Linked DNA regions of Homo sapiens: all the other regions are linked to region 3. The links are contacts of gene promoters, found by promoter capture Hi-C in human tissues and cell types (Jung and others, 2019). All regions are on one chromosome and are shown on one strand. The core of a region is centred on a gene start or on the middle of the fragment in contact, and the rest is flanking DNA. Distances in the headings are between cores, read along the strand shown.

Evidence for each region. The method cuts DNA at HindIII sites, captures the fragments that hold promoters and counts their contacts. A contact is called where the count stands out against the background at its distance.
Region 1: a contact is called between a fragment that was not itself captured here and the fragment with the promoter of CYP2A13 in region 3, in 5 of the 25 tissues and cell types used here (H1 embryonic stem cells, bladder, dorsolateral prefrontal cortex and 2 more).
Region 2: the fragment with the promoter of CYP2B6 here is called in contact with the fragment with the promoter of CYP2A13 in region 3 in 2 of the 25 tissues and cell types used here (IMR-90 fibroblasts and adrenal gland).

Annotation. Positions count from the first base shown.
Region 1 is chr19:41,011,523-41,015,487 of GRCh38, forward strand. It overlaps CYP2B6 (cytochrome P450 family 2 subfamily B member 6), which reads left to right. Exons shown (of 9, transcript NM_000767.5): 7 at 776-963; 8 at 1,152-1,293. Among named protein-coding and RNA genes, the nearest start is that of CYP2B6, 22 kb to the left of the region's middle. The HindIII fragment of the contact is 4,745 bases long and covers 123-3,965 here.
Region 2 is chr19:40,990,014-40,993,794 of GRCh38, forward strand. CYP2B6 (cytochrome P450 family 2 subfamily B member 6) reads left to right here and starts at 1,269. Exons shown (of 9, transcript NM_000767.5): 1 at 1,269-1,463. The coding sequence starts at 1,293. RefSeq lists promoters at 1-1,308, 1-1,274 and a cis regulatory region at 1,011-1,034. The HindIII fragment of the contact is 18,373 bases long and covers 1-3,781 here.
Region 3 is chr19:41,086,855-41,090,871 of GRCh38, forward strand. It overlaps CYP2A13 (cytochrome P450 family 2 subfamily A member 13), which reads left to right and starts at 1,597. Exons shown (of 9, transcript NM_000766.5): 1 at 1,597-1,797; 2 at 2,075-2,237; 3 at 3,193-3,342; 4 at 3,550-3,710. The coding sequence starts at 1,618. The HindIII fragment of the contact is 9,937 bases long and covers 1-4,017 here.

The DNA of each region.
Region 1 (3,965 bases), core at 1,245-3,744, 74 kb before region 3:
TATTGATTGATTGATTGATGTTTTTATCCAGTTGTTCATGAATTCATCTATTGTTCTATTACACTGTTATATACCTGAGGACCAAGAATAGTGTCTCAACTATATTATAAACACAATAAATATTAGTTCATTTTCTACTCATCTTAGAGAGGGTGTTTTGAGAGGTTTGTAGCCTGGAGTTCTTAATCTGAAATTCCATGCAAAATCGTGGTGTGTGTGTGCATGTGTGTGTGTGTACCTGGGCATGTGGGAAGAGGATCTGTAATATTCATTAGATTTCAAGCAGTGAGAATTCTTGTTGCTTCCTCCCTCCTCCCCTCACCCCATGCTGATTACTTTGAGGGGTATCAAGGATCTAACCCTTTACTATAGGTTTTTCATTGGTCAATAGAAAGTAGTGTCCTTGCTGAAAGGTCTCTTTTTAAAAAAATTTTTTTTTCTTTTGAGATGGAGTCTTGCTCTGTCACCCAGTCTAGAGTGCAGTGGCATGATCTCGGCTCACTGCAACCTCCACCTCCTGGGTTCAAGTGATTCTCCTGCCTCAGCCTCCTGAGTAGCTAGGAATACAGGTGTGCACCAGCACACCCAGCTAATTTTTTGTATTTTTAGGAGAGACGGGATTTTGCCATGTTGGCCAGGCTCATCTTGAACTCCTGACCTCAAGGAATCCACCCACCTCAACCTCCAAAATTGCTGGGATTACAGGCATGAGCCACCATGCCTGGCCTGAAATGCCTCTTTAAAATGAGATTCATTGGTCTTCTTTTCTGTACAGAGAGAGTCTACAGGGAGATTGAACAGGTGATTGGCCCACATCGCCCTCCAGAGCTTCATGACCGAGCCAAAATGCCATACACAGAGGCAGTCATCTATGAGATTCAGAGATTTTCCGACCTTCTCCCCATGGGTGTGCCCCACATTGTCACCCAACACACCAGCTTCCGAGGGTACATCATCCCCAAGGTAAGACCGGCTGGAACCCCATAGCCCTCCTGTTTGGGCATCCTGGATTCTCTTAATCCCCGAACTCAACCTTTTGTTAGCTCCTTAATTGAGTCCCGTTGTTTTTGTTTTTTGTATTTCTTTTTTGTGGAGTGTGTGGAGGGTTGGAGGGAATGGCAATATCTTTTGATCTTGTGATCCTCCCTCAGGACACAGAAGTATTTCTCATCCTGAGCACTGCTCTCCATGACCCACACTACTTTGAAAAACCAGACGCCTTCAATCCTGACCACTTTCTGGATGCCAATGGGGCACTGAAAAAGACTGAAGCTTTTATCCCCTTCTCCTTAGGTAAGCTGGACCCACAATTTCTTTCCCAGACACCAGAGGGCAGGTACTATCCCCAACTTGAGAAAAACAACGAGAGATACTGATTATTTGAGCACTTAATATATTCTGATTGCTTCACCTGCCTTATCCCATTCCATCTTCACTACAACCCTATAAGGAGGCTTGAGAAAGAAGATTACATTCCCAAAGGCACATCTTGGCAAGCAGGACCTTGGGCAAGTATTTTAACATCTCTAAACCTCAGTGAGTTCATTTTCTTAAAAAGAAAAAATCTGTTGGGCACCACTGTAAGCCCAGTGCTGTACTGGGGGCTGAAGATAATGCATCAAACAAGTCACACAGAGACAGGGTTCCTGCCCCAGGAAATTTAAAGTCCAGCAGGGAAGATGGGCATTCATCAAATAATAATAAAATAATCATCTCATGAAATGAATGAATGCCTGCAACATGCTTAGAACTGCCTGGCACAAAGGACATGCTCACAAGGGCAATTATTATTATAATTAGACATAATTGTGATAAGTGCTCTAAAGGGAGCTTTGGGAGCACAAAATAGGAAATAGTAGCTAATCTTGTGGTGGGTCCGTAAGGAAAAGCTTACCAGAGGAACTGGCTTCCAAGCTAACATGTTCATGGGTGAGCATCAATCAACCATTGCAAAGTGTGTTCCAGGCAAAGGAAACAGCAAGGACAAAGGCCAAAGGTAGAAACGTGATATGGCACCATTGAGAACCTATAGGAAGTCCAGTGAGCCTTGGGTGTAGATTGCAGAAGGAAATAAGACAAAGGGCTCATCTGGGCAGGACCTTGAAGGTTGCAGGAGGAGTTTGGATTTATGGTCTAGCACTGGGAAGGTGGAAAAGGTCTTGACGTGCTCTGACTTGTCCCAGTTCTCATCCTCTACTCTTTGGCTGGTTAAAAGAAAAACTTTAGACAAATTAAACTTAGCAGAGTCTATCTGAACAAAGAAACAATTCATGAATTGGGCAGCACAAGGAACCAGTAAAGGTTCAGAGAGCTCCATCCAGCAATGTGGTCAGGCACTATTTATCCACAGGGAAAGGAACTGAGGTACTGAAACAGCCTGATTGGTTACAGCTCTGTGTTTGCCTTATCTGAGCATGTCTGGGCAGCTTGTAGCCTGTGACTGGCTGAAGCTTGGCTGCCCTGATTGTCCAAGGTTACTTGTTACAAGAATATACTCTCAAGTTTGTTTACATGTTGAGTTACATTACAATTTGTTATGTAGGGAGGCTGCTTTAGGCCAAATTTAATTGAATTTAACATGCACCATCCATGAAAGGCCCCAGAAACAAACCCCCAGTCTTGAGTTTCATCAGTGACTTCAGTGATCCAGGGTTTGGCCCAGCCCCCGGTTTTGCGCAGTACAGTGACCTCCTTCCACATTTTATCTTCAATGAAAATTGGGAACATGTGTGGTGATGGCTTGAATGTCAATGTCTTCTCTCAATTTTGCTATCTGAAGTTTCTTTTTTTTTTTTTGTCTTCAGACGGAGTCTTCCTGTGTTGCCCAGGCTGGAGTGCAGTGTCACGATCACAGCTCACTGCAACCTCTGCCTCCCAGGTTCAAGTGATTCTCCTGCCTCAGCCTCCCGAGTACCTGAAACTACGGGCGCATGCCACCATGCCTGGCTATTTTTTTTTATTTTTAGTAGAGACTGGGTTTCACCGTGTTAGCCAGGATGGTGCTGATCTTCTGACCTTGTGATATGCCCACCTCAGTTTCTGAAAGTCCTGGGATTACAGGCATAAGCCACTGCGACTGGCCTGCTAATTTGTTTTAAGAGAGGCAGAGATGTAGGGAAATAAGGACAGAGACAGATAAGTAACAAAGATAATGAGACTGAGAAACAGAGTTAGGGACAAAGAGGGAACACATAGAGATAGAGATGGGGAGCCAGTGGCAGAAAGACAGAGGGCAAACCTCAGACAGTATACAGAGAGGAAGAGAGAGAGACACAGAGAGAGAGAGAGTCACGTAAGGAGAAGGAGGAGGAGGAGGAATAAGAGGAGAGAGAGTAGGAAAAGGAAGGAGGAGGGGAGAAAGGAGGGAAAGGAGAGAAACAGAATAAGAGATAGGAAAAAGAGAGAGTGACATAAAAAGAGAGGAAGAAAGAATGAACAAGACAAATAAGGTATCTTTAGAGGGAGATGAAAAGAAAGAATGAGAGAGAAAGAGATTGGGGAGAAATCAGATTCAAATAGATGGAGATAGGAAGTTAAGCAAGATGGAAGAAAGCCAAAAAAAGGAGAGGAAAAGAAGAAAAGCTGTGTCTGACAGGTATAGACAGAGAAAAAGACAGGAGTAGGGCTGCCAGGGGCAGAAAGAAAGGTATAACCCAAGCCAAAAGGGTACTGCAGCCAAAGAAATTCGAAAGGTGTCCAAACAGACGGCCCCAGAGATGGGGAGGGCGTGATGAGAGGGAGATAATAAGCCTCAGGCTGTTGTGAAAAATGTTAGGTCACACAAAGAGTTACAGAAGAACAGGCCCAGAGACCTGCCTGTTTCTAAGCTCATGTCACCCACCTTCTGGGTATGCCAAAGGGATGTGGACACTTTTCCAAACACCTCCACATAGACACACTTGTCCAACAACTTGACAGGCATAGGGAATGCCTGAAAACTCACACTTGACATGGCCTTTCCAAGG
Region 2 (3,781 bases), core at 19-2,518, 97 kb before region 3:
ATCAGAAACCAAGAGGACCTGATCGCTGTACCTGCCAGGTCTCAGTTTCTGTCTCCTTCCAACTGACCACCTCTTCCTCTGAGACTCACCAGTTCTGCATCTCTTGCTCCTCCTTCTGTTTCTCCGACCACTTCCACCTGTGGCTGTCACAGAAGGGCGGATGAAGGAGGGGACACTGGAGATAGACTCAGCATCTGCAGGCTTCCAAAGAGAGGGGCTAGGAGATCCACCAACACACCAGCACAAATACACCAGCACACACAGATACACACAATTGGTTCATGTATTGCTAGGTTACAGTTTGCTATGCTACAAAGGCAGTAGGCCAAATTTGATTGAATTGAATAATTCCTTATTTTCATCAGCTTCTCCTTTTTTTTTTTTTTTTTTTTTTTTTGAGATGGAGTATTGCTGTGTCACCCAGGCTGGAGTGCAGTGGTGTAATCTTGGCTCACTGCAGCCTCCACCTCCCAGGTTCAAGTGATTCTCTTGCCTCAGCCTCCCGAGTAGCTGGGATTAAAAGTACCCACCATCACGCCCGGTTAATTTTTGTGTTTTTAGTACAGATGGGGTTTTGCCATGTGGGCCAGGATGGTCTCGAACTCTTGACCTCAATTGATCTGCCCCCCTCAGCTTCCCAACGTGCTGGGATTACAGGTGTGAGCCACCGCACCCAGCCAGCCTCTCAGTTTTGAACATGCACTACCACCACCTCCACAACACACAAATGTAAATGCACTTTCGTATATAAAACTGTATAAATACAAGGAAGCTCATACACATGCAAGGATACACACATAAGCACCCCCAGATTCAACCACAGAAATATACGCCAGTACATTTGCATAAATTCAAACACCCCTTTACATGTAAAAATCATATAAGCACATACAGGGATGCAAGCAGGCATGGACAAATGCATGCAAGCACAGACAAACAGACAAAGCTAAGTAAAAAAGTGCAAGCTCACCTATGCTTACAAAAATAGACATACATATACCCACAAACCCACACACCCACACATTCACTTGCTCACCTGGACTTTGATATCTCTACCACTGTATCCCTGCCAATATCTACAGAGTGGGTAAAGGGATAGGCATCAGGTCACTGGGTTGCCCAAGCAGGAAGTCTGGGTTCCCTAACAACTTTTTCTAAGCTAATGCTCCTGGATGATGATGAAAAAGGAGGTGGGGAATGGATGAAATTTTATAACAGGGTGCAGAGGCAGGGTCAGGATAAAAGGCCCAGTTGGAGGCTGCAGCAGGGTGCAGGGCAGTCAGACCAGGACCATGGAACTCAGCGTCCTCCTCTTCCTTGCACTCCTCACAGGACTCTTGCTACTCCTGGTTCAGCGCCACCCTAACACCCATGACCGCCTCCCACCAGGGCCCCGCCCTCTGCCCCTTTTGGGAAACCTTCTGCAGATGGATAGAAGAGGCCTACTCAAATCCTTTCTGAGGGTAAGACACAGACGAATGGGGTCTGAGGGTGAGCTGCTTCTTGCCTTGGTACTTGGGGAAGCTTCACCAAACAGAATGAGGCAGACTTCCAGAGTCAGGGGTGGCACGGGCATGGTTGGTGAGTACGGAGCATGGTGAAGCATGATGGGTGGTATTATTAGGAGAAAAGCATCAAATTAAATTTAGCAGAGTTTATTTGAGCAAAGAAGTGACTCATGAGTTGGACAGCTCCCTAAACCAGGAAAGACACCACACGGCAGTATGGTCAAGTGGTATTTACAGGCAGAAAAAGGAGGTGACATACAGAAACAGCCTGATTGGCCACAGATCACAGCTTGCCTTACTTGGTCACAATCTGAGCAGTTTGCAGCCTGTGTGGACTGAAAGCCCAGCTGCTCTGATTAGCCAACACTTGGCTACTTGTCACAAGAATATATTCATTTGGGCCAGGTGCAGTGGCTCATGCCTGTAATCCCAGTGCTTTTGGAGGCCGAGGTGGTGGATCACCTGAGGTCAGGAGTTCGAGACCAGCCTGGCCAACATGGTGAAACCTTGTCTCTACTAAAAATACAAATATTAGCTGGGCATAGTGATGCGTGCCTGTAATCTCAGCTACCCAGGAGGCTGAGGAAGGAGAATCACTTGAATCCAGGAGGCAGAGGTTGCAGTGAGCCAAAATCTTACCACTGCACTCCATCCTGGGTGACAGAGTGAGACTCCTTCTCAAAAAAAAAAAAAAAAAAAAGAATATACTCCCAAGTTAGGTTGCAGTTCACTCTACAGAGAGAGCTTTAGGTCAAATTTAATTTAATTAAACAATTCTCCCCTTTTGGTCAGCCTCAAAATTTTGAGATTGACCAAAACCTTGGGCATCAACATTACTTCTGTCACCATCATAATGGACTTGTCTGCTCTCAGTATGGAATTCACAATGGACAATGTCAACGTAGTTGAGTGATTCTTTACCTTTTCTTCATGTTTTTGTTGTTCCCACTGTAATGAGCCCACTGGATGTACAAAGAATGGCTGCATATGAGCATTTAAGACTCTTTTTTTTTCTGAGACAGGGCCTCACTCTGTCAGCCAGGCTGAAGTGCTGTGGCATGATCACGTCTCACTGCAGCCTTGACCTCCCAAGGCTCAAGTGATCCTCCTGCCTCAGCCCCCCAAGTAGCTGGAACTACAGGTGCATGCCACCACGCCCAGCTAATTTTTGTATTTTTTGTAGAGACAGGGTTTTGCCATGTTGCCCAGACTGGTCTTAAACTCCTGGGCTCAAGCAATCCACCTGCCTCGGCCTCCCAAAGTGCTAGGATTACATGTGTGAGCCACCGCACCCGGCCAAGACTCTTGAGAAAATACAACACATCAGGGAGACTGTTATGATGGCTCTCAGGAGGGTAATACGAAGAAAATGAAGTCACTGGGCCTGTAATAAACTTTGAGGAATGTGGACTTGGGGGTATAGATAAGGTCCACTGTCCACAGAGAGAAGAAAGGCTGTTAATAGTCTCTTTTAACTTGAGTGTGTCCATGAACCAAACTGATCAAAATCGAATAATTCGAAGTTCAGACAATAAAGATAGTTCAATAGTATTAGAGTCCAATTGGTCATAGATTTTGTTCAGGGCATGATGGTAATTAAGGACCAGAGCTTGCTATAAAATAACTTGATTTATAGAGACATTCATTTGTAGTTGGCCTGGTAACATATAGTATCCTGGAGACCCACTAGAAGAAACATTAAGAGTAGAAAAGTTTGGGATAGCCAGGCTTGCTGTGTTAGTCCATTCTCACACTGTTATAAAGACATACCTGAGACTGGGTAATTTATAAACAAAAGGGATGTAACTGACTCACAGTTCCACATGGCTGGGGAGGCCCCAGGAAAATACAATTCATGGCAAAAGGTGAATGAGAAGCAGGAAACTTACAATCATGATGGAAGGTGAAGGAGAAGCAAGTACCTTCTTCACAAGGTGGCAGGAAAAAGAGAGAGAGCCAAGGGGGAAGAGCCTCTTATAAAACCATCAGATCTTGTGAGAACTCACTCACTATCACAAGAACAGCATGGGGGAAACCGCCCCCAGGATCCAGTTACCTCCTACTAGGTCCTTCCCTCCACACCTGGGGATTACAATTCAAGATGAGATTTGGGTGAGGACACAGAGCCAAACCATATCACTTACCATCACCATTCAGGATGCTTGCAAACCAACTGCTAGCTGCACCTGTAAACACATATCTGTTTCTTTCCCCTGAGAAATGTCCTTAGTGTATTTGTGGCAGTGTCTAGAGAAACAGCAGTGTCAGCCGCA
Region 3 (4,017 bases), core at 347-2,846:
CAGGGTGATCTAGGCCAGTCAATGAAGGGGGGCGAGGAGAAAGTTCACATCCCAGCTCCCTCACTTACTCCCTGTGTGACCTCACTCAAGAGGATTTATGGAGTCTAGATCTGCTCATCTTCAAAATGAGGATGATCATGATGAACCAACCTCACTGTTACAAAGATTCAACCAGATCATACACACCTAGACTTAATCTTCCCATATATGACCATGCTCACCAAAGGGTAACTGTCCTGTTTACTAAGGAAGAATTTCCTTGAGGGAAGGACAGGAGGGCTACTCATCCCTTCTCCACTCACACCCACCCCAGGATCTGCCTCTGTGCCTAATACTGGAGTTTACCCCAATCTCTTCTGCGATTGTTCCCTCTGCCTACTAATAGTAGTAGCCCCTGACAAAGCAGGAATCGCCCTTAAAGGAGACTTAACTCACCCTCAAACGTGGTCTTCTCTTCCCAAACACTCCCTTTCCACTGGCAGGAAAACCAAATCCAGAAAGTGGAACTAAAGACGCAGAGCAAGAGAGATGGGAGTTCAGGGCCACTCACACATGTCCCCTGCCCACTGTCTGTTTTCTGTCCTCTGTAGATCTTTATATAAAATGAGAAACATAAATAACAATCATAGTATTAATAGGGATGATACAATCAATCTAGTGGGTTTCCCTAAGAATCTGGGTTGGAAACCAGTGGAGTTCTTCGTAAATTACAACCCTTGGGACACTTGAGATTTTTCCAGCATTTGAGGGTTGTTATTACTATTTCTCCAGACCTAGCCAATCCCCTCTGCCAACTGGTAACATGAGGTACTCTTCTCCACGTGTGGGGAAAGTTCCTCTGAAATATGGCTCTCGTCTTCTGCCCCTTTCCCAGCCAGAGATGGGCAGCGGAGGTTCTATGGCACCCATCCTGGCCTCACTCTGAGGTTCCAATGAGGATTCTGGGCATCAAGAGACAGCTCTGGGTCAAAGCAAAATCAAGTCAGTCCCTGGGCCCAGTGCTGGGCTGCTGGGCTTTCTGGGAGCACCTGCTGGGCTTGCTACACACTCCACCTCCCAGAAACTCCACACCCACAGCCCTGGGTCTTCCTAGCCCCAAGACTTTCAAGTCCATATGCCTGGAATCCCCCGTCCTGAGACCCTTAACCCTGCATCCTCCACAACAGAAGACCCCCAGATGCACAGCCACACTTCCATCTCACCCTAGTAAAACCCAGACCTTTGGATTCCTCTCCCGTGGAATGCCCAAATCCACAACTTTGGGGTGCATTCTCACTCCCAGATCCCAAATCCAAAGTCCAGGTGCTCCCCTGTGCAAATATTCCAAACTCCTCAGTTCCACAGTTTATCTGTTGCCCGCTCCTAAATCCACAGCCCTGCAGCAACCCTCCTGAAGTACCAGATTTAGTCTGGAGTTCCCCTCCCTGTTCAGCTTCCCTGGGGTCCCTCTCCTCCTCCCTTGCTGGCTGTGTCCTAAGCTGTGTGGGATTCAGGGTTGGGGTGTAGTTGGGAGGTGAAATGAGGTGATTATATAATCAACCAAAGTCCATCCCTCTTTTTCAGGCAGTATAAAGGCAAACCACCCCAGCCATCACCATCTATCATCCCACTGCCACCATGCTGGCCTCAGGGCTGCTTCTGGTGACCTTGCTGGCCTGCCTGACTGTGATGGTCTTGATGTCAGTCTGGCGGCAGAGGAAGAGCAGGGGGAAGCTGCCTCCGGGACCCACCCCATTGCCCTTCATTGGAAACTACCTGCAGCTGAACACAGAGCAGATGTACAACTCCCTCATGAAGGTGTCCTAAGGCAGGGAGATGGGTGGCACGGGGTGGGGGCTGCCCAGTTGGCTGGGGCTTTGTGGCAGGGGATTGACCAGTGTGGACCAGAGTCTTAGGAAAGGGAGTCTTGGAGTTTCAGCATCAGGGTCCTAGCAGGAAAGACAGGATCTTGGGATGTCCAGCTCCCTGACTGTGAGAACCTGGGGGCGAAGCATCCCAGTACATGATATCTCAGTGCTGGGCCCATTCAGAGTGGGGGCTGCTCCCTCTAACCACTCCCACCTGCCTCCAACAGATCAGTGAGCGCTATGGCCCTGTGTTCACCATTCACTTGGGGCCCCGGCGGGTCGTGGTGCTGTGCGGACATGATGCCGTCAAGGAGGCTCTGGTGGACCAGGCTGAGGAGTTCAGCGGGCGAGGCGAGCAGGCCACCTTCGACTGGCTCTTCAAAGGCTATGGTGAGGGGGTGCCCAAGAGGGGGAAGGTGGCCAGGTGGATGCAATGGTCTCCGTGTCCCCAGCCTTCTCCCTGACTCTCCTGCCCACTGGAGGCTATGGCAGAGCCCCCTGTCTGGTCTTCTCTCCCCATCTCCCTTCATCGTGGCCTCTCCCTGTGCGTCCCTCACCTGTCTCCAGCGTCCCTGTCGTGATTCCTCCCTGCCTCTCTCTGCCCCGTCTCCTCCTTCTCTCTCACTGGAGTCTCCTCTTTCCCCTCTCTCTCCATCTCTGAGGACATCCTGGGTTTCTGTTTTCCAGCCCTGGTCCTCTGTCTTCATTTGTCTTTTTGTCGCTCTCGGCTTCTGTGCTTCTCCGTGTTTCTCCTCTCTCTGCTTCCCTCTCCCACTTCTTCCTCTGTCTTAGGATTTCAGGGTATTCCTACTTCCACATCTCCAGCCTCCAACTCCTGGTAATTGTCTGTCCTCCTTCCCGATCCTCTCTGTTTCTGTCTCCATATTTTTCTCTCTTCTCCAGTTCAGCTTAAGAATCTTTCACCATTTTTATTTCCTCCTCCCAGATCTCCCCATATCTCACTTCCCCTCCCTCCATCTCTCTCTTTCTCTCCCCACTTCCTTCCCTTCCTCCATGGAGTATCCCCGTATCCCTCTGTTTCTCTGCATCTGTCTGTCTGGCCTTTCTGCTTCTCTTCTGATTCTCTTATTCTTTCTACCCGGTCTCTCTCTCTCTCTCTCTCTCTCTCTCTCTCTCTCTCTCTCTCTCTCTCTCTCTCTCTCTCTCTCTCGTGCTCTCGTGTTTCTCTGACTGAGTTTGCAGCTCTCCTGGGCACTCGCGCTGAATCCATCTCTCTCCCACCCCACTCCCTCTCTGCTCCACCCTTGGGGAGCCCCTTGGAGCTGGTCCGCTCCTGCTCCCGCCGCCCCCTGACCTCTCTCCACCCCCGCGTTCACCTCCCCAGGCGTGGCGTTCAGCAACGGGGAGCGCGCCAAGCAGCTCCGGCGCTTCTCCATCGCCACCCTAAGGGGTTTTGGCGTGGGCAAGCGCGGCATCGAGGAACGCATCCAGGAGGAGGCGGGCTTCCTCATCGACGCCCTCCGGGGCACGCACGGTGAGTAGGGGACCCCGAGTGCGAGGGCGGGAACCCGCGCTTTCTGCCTGGGGATGGGGACTAGGTGGGGAAAGGGGCCCGCACTTCCAGCCCTGGAGTCTGGCGCTGGGATTCGGCTCAACAGGGCCCTGCCTCCTGGAATTCTGACTCTCCTCAGACCTCTGAGTTGACTCTCTCCCCAACCCCCTTCTCCCGCCACACCTGCAGGCGCCAATATCGATCCCACCTTCTTCCTGAGCCGCACAGTCTCCAATGTCATCAGCTCCATTGTCTTTGGGGACCGCTTTGACTATGAGGACAAAGAGTTCCTGTCACTGTTGCGCATGATGCTGGGAAGCTTCCAGTTCACGGCAACCTCCACGGGGCAGGTAACTGGCTGCAGCCCGCCAGTGACGCCCCTACCACAACCTGCCAACTGCTCCCCTACCTGGAGACAGGTGCCCCAAACTCCCACCCCCCTCCAGACAGTGTCCCCTCAAAATCAGTCCCCGATATTGGACAACTGGACGGTTGCACCAGAACCCAGGAGGGATGCCCAATACCCAGTCTCCAAGGACACCTGGATAGCTCAACAGATGATCCCCAAAACAGAGCCTGCTGGCAGGATGCATACCCTCAGCTCAGCTCTCTCACCTGGGCACATGTTCCCATCCCCAACTTACCGTAATTTGTAAC